2 separate regions of the Homo sapiens genome follow, and region 1 is linked to region 2. Evidence: promoter capture Hi-C in 16 types of primary human blood cells and fetal thymus (Javierre and others, 2016). All regions are on one chromosome and are shown on one strand. The core of a region is centred on a gene start or on the middle of the fragment in contact, and the rest is flanking DNA. Distances in the headings are between cores, read along the strand shown.

Evidence for each region. Contacts are between HindIII fragments. The CHiCAGO score rates a contact against its expected background, and 5 or more counts as called.
Region 1: a fragment that was not itself captured here is called in contact with the fragment with the promoter of MEIS1-AS2 in region 2 in 1 of 17 cell types (M0 macrophages); the score reaches 7.2 in M0 macrophages.

What each region holds. Positions count from the first base shown.
Region 1 is chr2:67,972,644-67,978,752 of GRCh38, forward strand. No RefSeq gene overlaps it. Among named protein-coding and RNA genes, the nearest start is that of C1D, 87 kb to the right of the region's middle. The HindIII fragment of the contact is 1,034 bases long and covers 3,257-4,290 here.
Region 2 is chr2:66,436,731-66,443,001 of GRCh38, forward strand. It overlaps MEIS1-AS2 (MEIS1 antisense RNA 2), which reads right to left and starts at 3,600. Exons shown (of 2, transcript NR_046625.1): 1 at 3,495-3,600; 2 at 2,357-2,959. MEIS1 (Meis homeobox 1) reads left to right here. Exons shown (of 13, transcript NM_002398.3): 2 at 1,007-1,233; 3 at 3,113-3,254; 4 at 3,832-3,882; 5 at 4,684-4,734; 6 at 6,172-6,271. RefSeq lists enhancers at 2,711-3,910, 5,710-6,271. The HindIII fragment of the contact is 4,208 bases long and covers 2,323-6,271 here.

The DNA of each region.
Region 1 (6,109 bases), core at 2,524-5,023, 1.5 Mb after region 2:
CGAGAATTAAATGAGGCAATGCTTAAAGTGCTTAGCACAATGCCTGACATGTTAAGTACTCAAAAATGTCATCTATTATCTCACTCTTTTATTTATTATTATTATTATTATTAAGAGGGAGTCTCACTCTGTCGCCCAGGCTAGAGTGCAGTTGTGCAGTCTTGGCTTACTGCAACCTCTGCCTCCCAGGTTCAAGTGATTCTCCTGCCTCAGCCTCCCAAGTAGCTGGGATTACATGCATGCTTCACGCCCGGCTAATTTTGTATTTTGAGTAGAGACGGGGTTTCACCATGTTGGCCAGGCTGGTCTCAAACTCCTGACCTCAGATGATCCACCCCACCTTGGCCTCCCAAAGTGCTGGGATTACAGGCATGAGCCACCATGCCTGGCCTATCATCGCTCTTTTAAACTTCTGTTAAGATAATGGAAAAGATCTTTTGTTCATTTAGTAATCCGTCTCATTCATTTTTTAATTACCTACTGTGGGTCATCTCTGCCATGCTAGATGTTATAAAGCTATATGATTTGAATTTTTAAAATATTTTTAATTTTTATTTTTAAATACTTACAGACTCACAAGAAGTAGTAAAAATAATCCAGAGAGGTTCTGTGTACCTATCACCCATCTTCTCCCAATGGTGCCACTTTATACGTCTGTAGTACATTATCAAAACCAGAAATCAACATTGGCATCATACAATTAACTAGACAATTAGACCTTACTCGGATTTCATTGTGCAGGGACTCCTTTTTGGGGGGTGAGGGCATGTAATCCTGTGACATTTTCACCCATGGGTAAACTTGTGTTACCACCACCACAATCAAAATGTAGAACCCTTCTGTCATCACAAAGGAATTCCCTTGCGCTACTCTATTTTTCGTTTTTTGAAATGGGTCTCTCTTGATCGCCCACGTTAGTTTCAAACTCCTGGGCTCAAACAGTCCTCCTGCCTCAGCCTCTCAAGTAGCTTGAACGACAGGTGCACACCACAGGCTCAGCTTGCTACCCTTTTTAGAGTCGCATTCTGGCTCCCTTACCTAATCCCTGGCAACCACTGATCTGGTCCCCATTTCTATCTTTTTGTCATTTTGAGACGTTATATACACAGAATCATACAATATATAACTTTTTGAGATAAGCTAAGCAGTTTTTACACTCATGAAAAATAGCCTTACATACTGAACCTAGATTTCTTGACTGGGAAGAATTTCTTTCTTTTTTTCCCCCATTAATCTATATGTTTTATTTTTGTGGGTACATAATAGCCTTTAGGTTAATAGGTATATTATGGAGTACATGAGATGTTTTGATACAGGCATGCAATGCATCATAATCATATCATGGAGAATGGGGTATCCATCCCTTCAAGCATTTAACCTTTGTGTTACAAATCATCCAATTATACACTTTTAGTTAGTTTTAAATGTACAATTAAGTTATTATTGACTATAGTCAGTCACCCTGTTGTGCTATCAAATACTAGGTCCTATTTCATTCTTTGTTTTGTTTTGTTTTTTCTTTTTACCCATTAACCATCCTCCCCAACCCTCCATCACCCACAACCCTTCCCAGACTCTGGTAACCATCCTTAGGAAGAATTTCTTGACTGGATTTATACTGGGGAGAATTAATTTCATCTTCAGATCATGTAGAGTATTTCATTTCTAAGGAAATCTGAGGCTCTAATGATACCCTGAAAACAAAGGATTTAACCACTAGAATTCGCCAGATCATTGGAAGGTGTCCATGAGGTTCACTGTGTAGATGAAGGGAGGAGGAGCAGGTGATAGCCCTCATAGCCAGGACTAGACCTTCCTCATGGCCAGGACTAGGCTCAGAGGTGGACTCCAAAATGAACGCAAGAATATGTACTTGCTATCCATGCCGGACATTAATGAGCTTGGAAGAGGTTTGTCTATACATGTGAGAAATGAGTTTCAAGTACTTTTATCAATTCCTCCCCCGACAACTGATCAAAAAAGAAATTGTTTGCAAATTGCACAGCAGGCCAGGAAAACAGTCTGAAAACCCTTTCAATCAGATATTTTGGAAGGAGCTTGTCTAAAAACAACCCTTGCCAAGTTTCCAGGCTGCTCCTTTGTAAGCTCATTTTTGAAGATTTGTCACAAAGCAGGAACTGGAAGGAGAAACATGTTTTATTTTGTTATACAATGAAGTTCTTTGTCCAACAAATAGATGTGATAATATCACTGTGTTGGATACATTCTACCATTCTCCTAAGTGGTTGGGGCTGCTTTTTAAATTTTTGCACCTTCAGTCTGGTTGAGAGCACTGAAAGAATGGTGCTAAAAGCCTCTTTTCAGACACATCAGGGGCATTCTTTTGTTTGAATTTACTTCCCCTTTCCCACCCAGTCCCTGGCACCAAACACAGCCTTACAAATCAGCTCCGACTGGCAGGAGGAATGAAGTCAGCAGGAGCTGGTGCCAAGTTCCTCTTGGGCTCCATTCACCCAAGCCTCGCTAACCTTTTCTCCACATAGAAGGGGCATCTCCACTGCTCTCAGAAACACAACTTTGTACACACGCCAAATTGCTTTTGGGGGCAGTTACAGCAGAGATCCTCCCACTTTCATTTTACCTAGACTGTGTCACATGGAGCCAAGCACTTTGCAATTTACCACCTTTTCCCTCGATTTAATATTAGAAGCTCTATCTGATTCTGAGGCTGTTTTCTGGAAGGGCACTCCAAATGAGGAAACGTCTCTGTAAACTAAGGACAACGAAAAGGACTTTATCTGACCAACAATTTACTGTCTCCTGCTGGATTAGAGCGCTCACTCACATGAGCACTGCAGTTTTATAAAACACACAGAAGCATATGACCATGTAAAGACATGATCCTTCATGGTATTTCCCGGCTGCCGGTGAATACATTTTTAGGCACCACGACTTTGAATTCACTCAGCTGCATGATTTAGAGCCACTGGTCCCAAGCAGGATAATTTTCCCACCACCCCCCAGCCTGCCCCTTAGGGACATTTGTCAATATCTGGAGATGGTTTTGATTGAATCAACCAAATGGGATTGCTGCTGGCATCTAGTGGGTAGACGCCAGGGTTACCGCTACACATTCAGCAATGCACAGCACAGCCCCCATAACCAAACAAAGAATTATCTGGCCCCCCCAAATGTCCAAGTGCTGAGGTTGAGAAACCTTGATTAAAGGAAAGCATAGGGCTTTTGATGTCAGATAATTCAGGATTTGAATCTGATCCACAGCCTAGGCTATCCAAGCTTCAATTCTTCTTCTTTAAACTTAAAATGATCCTATCCTACCTGCCTTACTGAATCACTGGGAGGATCGAATGAGAGTAGAACCTGTAAAGAATGTAGTACTTAGCAAACACCGCGTGCTAAAAAAAAAAAAAGTTTTTTCTTTCCTCTTTACTCCCTGCTTTATACTGTTAATACCTCCTTTGAGACTACAGAGTCTCAGCAGCCGTTTTTCTCTTCCTTATCGCTGGAAATCAGCATTGTAGCAAATATCCACTCTGCTTTCTTGCAAACACTGATTCTCTGGTCTAGTGGGGCTGGCTACCACACAGCCTTGACTCTCCCATCACAGGTGTGACGACAAGGCCCAGAGTATCCCAAGCCCTAACCACAAAGATGGTTTCAGAGGAGAGACCACAACCCAAGCCTGACCAATCATGGCCACCCCAAGGACTATAGCTGGAGCCCTCAGGAAATAGACACTCTTTTTTTTAATCTGGAATTAATCAGAAAATGTGAAAACAAAGTAAGTTCGTAGCTGACAGTAGCTATCTTTGCCACTGGAAAGAACTGAATCAAGGCAGAATCAAAGTGCAGAAATGAGACATGGTAGAGTCAGGGGTGGGAGGGGAGATGGGGTTCCCATGATAGCTTTCCATGACCTTTTAGCTTACATTAGTTTGAGTTAGGTTTCTGTGACTTGAAACTCAAGGATTTATGACTAATAGAGCTTGTAGATGGGGTTAGAACGCACAGGATGTCAGTATAGTAACCAGCCTACAGATATCTACTGAGTGCCATGCAAGGTCCTGATAAGGACAAAAGATATCATTCCTGTCCTCAAGATGTTTCTAATCTTGGTGAGTAAACAAATACCTAGCAAAAAGATACCGTTACAAGGTTGTGGAAATGCCAAGAGAATCACAGGCCATATTGCTGATAAATTGGGTGTGGAGAGGTGAGAGAGACATTTTTCTCTATTGGAAAAAAAAGGGGACACTTTGTAGAGGAAGTGACTTAGCTGGCACCTCTCCCTAGCTGCCCAAGCCAAGAAGCTTCCCTTTCACTACCCCAGGAACATAAGCTGAGAACCGAAGAGGACTCTTACTCCTCCAAGGGGCTCCGCTCTTGCTGGACTGTGACCACCCCAGACCTGGTAAGCCAGGACCTCTGTTCATTGGCCCAGTGGCTACTCTCCTCCTGGGCATTGTCCACTACACTCCTATTGATCTACCCCCAAAGTACACAGACCCTCCATGACCTCTCCTCTGCATTCCTACCATCCACACCATGTGTAGTGTTTCCTTGCCCCAGACCCAAACCCCTACTCCTAACTTCCCTTCCAAATCCTTCCACTGTTCCCTCTAGACCTCTTACTCCAATATCAGCAAATACCTGCACCTCTCCTATCCTCCAAATGTTCTTTCCTTCCTTTTCTATACTGAGAATCAGCTGTCTGTTGAACACAAATTTCCTCTGAAACTCTGTTGCATTCTTCTCAAACCTCACAGTCAGGAGGTAATGTTATTCCCAGTGCTGCTTCCAGGCAGTTACTGCTCTGGCCTCTGGCCAAGATCCCTGATCCTTTGAGGATCCAGGCTTCTGGTCCTGCCACCTCTTCTCCTCTTCATTGCTGTCATCTACAGATCTCCTGACTCACAGCATTTTTCTTCACCCAATTCTTGCTATCTTTCCCAGTGACTTCAACCCCTGTGTGAAATTCTTATCCACCACCATGTGTGTCCATCCCCTGGCATGGTCACCACACTGCCCAGCTCCAGGAACATAAAGAACATTGTCATTGATGTGAATGGTGCCCACTGTAATTTTGCATTGCACACCCCACACACGCTTATGCAGTGTCCCAGGGCCTTGATCTCATCTCCAGCCACCTGCTCCTCCCACCAACTGAGCCACTGCCTCCTTAACCACACCCTTATCTCTGCATCACTCTAACATTATTAATTCAAACATCCCAGTCCCTTCAAGTTACTAGCTCGAGTACCCTCACAAGAAGTCTTTCCCTACAGAAAATTAGGAAATCCATGATCCTTTCACCTTCTATCAGTCCTTCCTGCTTTCACATCTTTCTTAACTCATCCTGGAGTTTAGAGTCTACCATTATCAATTATTCCCTGGAAAAGATTCATAGTCAATTGCTGCCTTCATTCTATTCCACTTGCCTGATAAAACCCCAGTCCTGAAAGATCCAAATCACTGCTATCCCCAACTATCTGTATCCTGGAAGCAGTATTTCCAGTGAATATCACAAAACAGGACATACAGTATTCGCCTAAATCATGACACTTTCCTCTCTATCATCACACATGTCTCCTAAATCTTCCTTCTTAGTGCCTCCTGGGTGCACGGTCTTCTCTCTAACTTAATGTCTCCAACGAGGTCTGCACAGCATCATCAGCCACACAGACAACTGAAATAGCACAGAGTAAGTTCTAAAACACTAATATCATGTCATTCCTTTGTCACTGCCTAAACATCTTCAACAAGGTACCCTTGTTATTAAGATAAAATCAGAAATTCTAATGGTGTACACTTGTTATTAGGATAAAATCAGAAATTCTTATCACAGAATTGCATCACCTGCCCTGCTTACATATCTACTCAGATTCCATGCTCCCCTTTCTGTGAATAGCCCTGTACAGTAGCCACCTTGACTTTCCTCAAAGTTGTCTTGCTCCTTTTGACCCCCAGAGCCTTCTGACAAGCTGCCCCTTCTGTCTACAAGGCCCCTCCCCAACCTTGCTTAGCTTATTCCAGCTCATCCTAAGCTCTCAGCATCAACACCTTGAACTCAGAGATACCTTCTCTAACCTTCCTTCCCCTACACAGCATGCACAAGGTCAAGTTACAT
Region 2 (6,271 bases), core at 2,350-4,849:
CAATTCCTCCTTTCTTTGAAAATCATTTCACTCTCAGCGCCTCCAAATCTTGGGAAAATAACTGCCTGGAATGAACCAATTAGAAAAACCTAAATAGCTAAATTTCACACACACAAAATAATGACAATCAATATGAAAGTAGTTTTTTTTTTTTTTTTCTGGAAGAGGAAGATGGAAAGTTGTGCATTTGCTTTTGAATTTGCTTTAAACCTGGTGAGTAACATTTGCCTCCTTGACTTCTAGTCTGGAAACAAAGTTCATAAGAGTAAATAAGAAAATAGAATATTAGCTGCTTCAACTATAGATTTTCTTTAACTTTGGGGGTGGGGAATTGCCCAATTCTAAATTCAGCTCTGATGTTCAGGAAAAGCTACCCTCCTTTGAGTTTCACTTATAAGGGGTCAGTTAGTTTTGTATAATTTAGCAGAGTTTGTCTTGGAAAGCAAAAGAAATGCAGTGTCTTGTAGGACTGCCTAACCTCACGCTGGCAGGGAAATAAAATGAGAAGCCTGTCTAAATTCACGTGCTTTGCGTAGCTGTTCCCATCGTAACTTTTTTTTTTTTTTTTAATTCCCCCTGATGTGAAGGGGCTGTGAAACTAGGCGGGTTTGCTGCAGTGTCCTGGCACGTTTTATTATTGTGATTTTGAATTTCTTCCTCCAGAGACATGCCCGTTTCACCTTCTACCCTCGGGAGAATGCTTCTCTTTCTCTCTTTCTTTCTTCTTTCCTTCTTGCCAAAGGAGCCTGAATTTCTAAACTAGTTGATAGGGACACAAGTTAGGGCAAGATCATTCATCCCAGACGAGTCTCGCTGAGAATTCTGTATTTTTTACTTAAAGCTTTAATTTTAAAATAAGAAAAACTCAGCTTTATAGATGCAAGGCCACCGAATTCCGGGTGGAAGGACCCAGCTGTATTGACCTTATATAAGCTCGGTGCCTTGCCGTTCTCCCATTTGCCCGCCTGGCCTCCTGAACCTTCTTTCTCTCCTGTTTGTCATGCAGTACGACGATCTACCCCATTACGGGGGCATGGATGGAGTAGGCATCCCCTCCACGATGTATGGGGACCCGCATGCAGCCAGGTCCATGCAGCCGGTCCACCACCTGAACCACGGGCCTCCTCTGCACTCGCATCAGTACCCGCACACAGCTCATACCAACGCCATGGCCCCCAGCATGGGCTCCTCTGTCAATGACGCTTTAAAGAGAGATAAAGATGCCATTTATGGGTAGGTACAATGGGCAGCAGGTTAAGTAGTTGAGACTCAACGCTTCCCTCTTTCTCTGTGCCCTTGGTAAGAGGAAAGTCAGAGTTCTCTGGATTGGAGGTACATCTTTGGTGACTTTTCATTCACATTTCATGGATAATTTGGGGAGGTGGCCTGCCATCCCTGAAGCCCTACATCCCCATACACACTCTGTGCACATCCAGTGCCCTGCTCCACCATGGCAGTGCCCGCAAGGGGGTCCCAGATGAGAAGAAGCTGGCTAAAGGGCCCTTGTCCCCTCTCAGACTCCTTCAGCGGGCTGGAGTCCTCCCTCGCTCGATTTCGCCCGAGAGCGTTAGGGGTTTCTAAATGCAGGCGCCTTTGTGTTGTAACGAAACTTTTAGTTTAAGGGAAAATCTCTTTTAAGCCACTGATTGTTCTGACTTGCTGAGTTTACTCAGCAGCCTTATGCTGGCTCTGCCACTGCACAATAAAACCAAAGCAGGACAGTTGCAGGTCAAGCAAGGGGGAACATGTTTTGCATTTAGGGAGTTTGACCACTGAAGTCAAGGAGAGGAGCTTGCTCTGAATTGTTACACACATTAAGAAACTTCTAGATGTTTTAGCACTTTGTGCTCAAAGGCGAAACCTGCAGGATTTAGAAATAAGTAAATTCGGGGTGCTCTTCCTCGGAGGTTGTTTTCTGGCTGCGGTTTATACTGCTTTCTCCTCCGCCATTCGATTAGACCCTGGGCTAGTAGAATCCTTTGAAACTCACTTGTGCCTACTGTGTGCCGATGAATTTGGGAACCTCTTTTTACTTTGCAGAAACTTTTATTTCTATTTATTTATTTTTAAAAAATCAGGACACACTGACCCTCCCTCGCTGGAAAAAAAAATATATATAATCTTTTTATTTTATTTTCTGATCCCTTGTGCGATGGGCTTGTTTAATTCCCACCGTTCTGTCCGCAGAGTTAACTACAAGTGGTTTAGGCTCTGGGACAGAACATTTGGGGAAGCTTTGTAAAGGACCCCAAACTGTTAAATTCCCAGCTGAGCTGTGAGAGCTAATAAAAGACTTGAGATACCTCCTTGGGCATTAGAAGAAGCTTTTCTTTCTTTCTTCTTCTTCTTCTTTTTTTTTTTTTTTTCTTTTTTATGGGCTGAGACAAGCGACATCTAGGCCCCTCGCAATACTAGCTGCTTTGCCACTTCGCAGAGACAAAATGAAAGGCTCTACTGCAGGAACATTTGAAGGAACTTTCTTTGGGGGGCGGTGGGGGCTATCAGCGAAGGGAGGGGAATGTGCGTGGAGCTGAGGAGGAGCCTCCCGGCTCTCCGAGGGCCTTGGGGTTGGGATCCCTAGGTGCAGCCCGTTGACAGTCGGCCCCACGGCCATGGACGTCCTTTCCCCAAGTTAGCTGAGCGCCTGCCACCGAGATCCCCCGAGCCTGGGCTTCGCGCGGCCGCCTAGGAGGAACCCGCAGGAACCAGCCCTCCCCAACTCTCCGCCCGGCGCCTTTCTCCTCCACCGGATCCTGGATGTGCAGTGGAGGGGACGAGGGCTTGTCGGGTGGGAAACTTAATTCAAAATGGCTGCTGGAAACGCTTGGGTTTTATTCGTAGCAAATGTTGCCAATTTCTCCGGCCAGATACGCTAAACCGATCCTCAGATACCGTCCATGGCTCAGGGCCTCCGACTTCAGGGCTCCAGGAGGAAGGGGAGGTGAGCGGTCACCTGGGTCTGGGGGAGGGGGAGGAAAAGGAAAAAAGTAGATGACACAATCGGAGAGGGGGTCTGTTCCTCTTGCTCCTCCAGCTGTTTTTCTTGGGCACCTTTTTCCATTGACTGGGGACTAACCATTATGTTGTTTGTGACTGTTGTATTTTCTTGCAGACACCCCCTCTTCCCTCTCTTAGCACTGATTTTTGAGAAATGTGAATTAGCTACTTGTACCCCCCGCGAGCCGGGGGTGGCGGGCGGGGACGTCTGCTCGTCAGAGTCATTCAATGAAGATATAGCCGTGTTCGCCAAACAGGTCAGCAAAATAGATGTTAAAAAGTAAAAGAAACAAAAAGAGAGCCCCCCCTTCGCCAACACACACGCGCGCGCGCGCGCGCGAACACACACACACACACACACACACGGCACACTTTCAAAAGTAGCCAGCACGTAGTCGGCCTTAAGCCATGCATGTTACCTCCAACCTCAGATTTTCTCTCTGTCTGAGTGTCTGTTTGCAGATAACTTAAAATCACCCATCTGCATCCCCACTCACCCTCCAGAAAGCAAACGTGGAGAGCTCACTCTGCAGAATAAAATCAAGAACACCACGGTTGTAGCTGCTGTGGACTCGGCGGTCTGAGCAGCCTCCCCGAGAGCCGTAGTTGCTAGTAGAAGTAAGATTGAGCTCTGGGCTTGTTTTCAGCTTATTTAATTCACACTGAAATGTTTCTGCGCGGGACGAACTCGGTGTCACCGGGTCCCTCCCGGAGGGTTACTTCCTGCCCCCGACAGTGTAATGAGGCAAGAAACTAGGAAGGCGACCAGATTTCAAATTTTTCTTTCTTTTTTCTCTCCCCTCCCTCTCCCCTCTCCTTCTCACTTGTATTTAGATTCGCGCAGAAAAACCTCTATTTTCTTCTAATCCAGAACTGGATAACTTGGTAAGAGCGGACCCCTATTTCCCTCCCCCGCCCCCGACCCCCTACCTCCCACCTCCAACGCCCTCAGCTTTGCTTTGAGAGCCCTGAGATTTCTAGACCGGTCTTCCCGTGCCTGCAGGTTGGCTGCAAATGTTTCTGTACACGGACAACTGGTCCGGGACAAGATCCCGGGGAAATAAATTCATCTCGAGAGGGGCCGGGCGAGCCAGCGCGGGGAAACGCGAGCTTTTGTTTTTTATGACAGCCGGGCTGCGCAGCTCTAATCAGCGCGGGGATTTATCTCCCGGCCTGTCAGCATGTGTGCTTAAACTTTGCGGACTTCCTAGCCCTCTAAGTCCCATCACGAGGGCAGCCACCGGACAAGAGCCCCCAAACAACCAGTTTGCCTGAAAGGTGTAAGGAAGGCAGCAGAAACTTTGCAATGGGAAAAGCCACAGTTTGAGGGCCATTTGGAATATTTTTCTGTCCACTCCTTCCAAGGACACATGTAGTCCAGTGTTGTGGCCCTTTTGGGGTGGGGTGGGGCCAGTGGGACTGAGAAAGGGGAGAGCCATGGGGGAGGAGAGTGTTTATGATCCTCACTTAGATGCTGTGTTGTTGTTTTAGCTAGTTTTTTTTTTCTTAAGAAATATAAACCTCTAGATGGTACCCAGTTGCTGCTATTAAGTTTTAGTGTTATTGCCATAAATCAAAATAACTCTATTTACTGGTGGGAGGGGGTGGGCTGGAGATGGTAGAGCTGTGGCAGCCAGTTTTCTGCAAGCCAGGAATGGGGTGCTTATTGTTTTTGTATCTTTGCAGATGATTCAAGCCATACAAGTATTAAGGTTTCATCTATTGGAATTAGAGAAGGTAATTTCTCTAGCCTCTTTTCCTTTTACTTACCCCTTACCCCCAAACACACAGGGGGGAGGGTTCCGAATGGCTGAAGTTCAGCCTTCTGATACATTTGCATAAATGTCTTTCTTTCTGGTAATTAGTGTCAAGGCCAATCTTAGCGTCCATTTCTCTTCGCAGTTTAATTACAATTTCAGCCACTAAAACTGGGATCACAAACGCCCTAGCCTTGTGTTCATTCTTAATAACTTGCTGGCTTTGTGTAAATAGTTGCAATTCTGTGCATCCCAGCTGATGTTTCGAATGCTGCTCTGAGGTTGTTTCACAAGTTCATACCTCTGTTGTCTCTTCTCATCCTCTTCCTTCTCTTCTTTGCTACCTCTGAGGGAGAAAAAAGTTTTATTCAGTTGTAGTGAGTTTCTGGAAGACAGTCTTGAGAGCAAGGGCAGATCAGACACAGGGGAGAGGCAGAAGGGGAGAAGGAGGAGGAGCGGGAAGGAGTCTGGAGGAGGTGGTGGGGAGGCACATTAAACGTTTTGCAGAGACAAAGCAGAGTTGATAGTTGTGTCAATTTCTTGAATCTGTGAATCCTGCACACACTCCACCTTCACACTCAAGAAAGGGTGTGGGATAACATGATTTTGCTAGCTGTTCTATAAATCTCAGCAATAAAAACTTAATGCATTGTAATTCAAACTAACATTAAATTGCAAGCACACTGGGGTTTCTTGTGAATTTTTGCATGTCAGTGATGCCTGGGACCTCTAGGAAACCTCTGCACTTACACTTAAATATTTTGAGGCATTCCTTCTCCTTTTTGTAAAAAAAAAAAAAAAAAAAAAAAATCAATTTGATATGTTTTTGTGTGGCTGTATGTTTTCCCATATCAGGAGTACTGGCAACTTGATTTCCTTCCATTTTTTTTTCAAAGAAAGTTTTCTAAAATATACCCCTTAGAGATAAAAACCTTCATTACAAATATAATAAGGACTTGGGTTGTCAGGCATTTATCCTATGCCACCACAGTACAGGTTCTTTGGAGAATATATATGTGCATATATACACACGTATACATTTTTTTCTTAGACACATTAGAAAGGGATTTATGATAAAGTCACTGGATGAAATTAAATAGTTTACCTTAAATGTCACCTACGCAGGTCACCTCTCTAATGACCACAGCCCCAGGAGCAGATGAATTTAACACGGGTGTTGAATATGTTGTAGCCTGTGAATCATCTTGTCACTGTCAATTTTCTGGGATATCTCTATTTTGCAAGAAAAGAAAGTTATTCCTAATTCTGGATGCGTCTGGGGGTCTCTGGAGGACAATTGCCCTGTGTTTCCCCTATTTGGAAGTTTGGATCTCACAAGGGGGGTGGATTGCACTTGTCAATGTCATTTATGCACTCCTGATTATATTCCCATTTTTTTATTTCTGTCATAATGTAGGTACACGAATTATGTGACAATTTCTGCCACCGGTATATTAGCTGTTTGAAAGGGAAAATGCCTATCGATTTGGTGATAGACGATAGAGAAGGAGGATCAA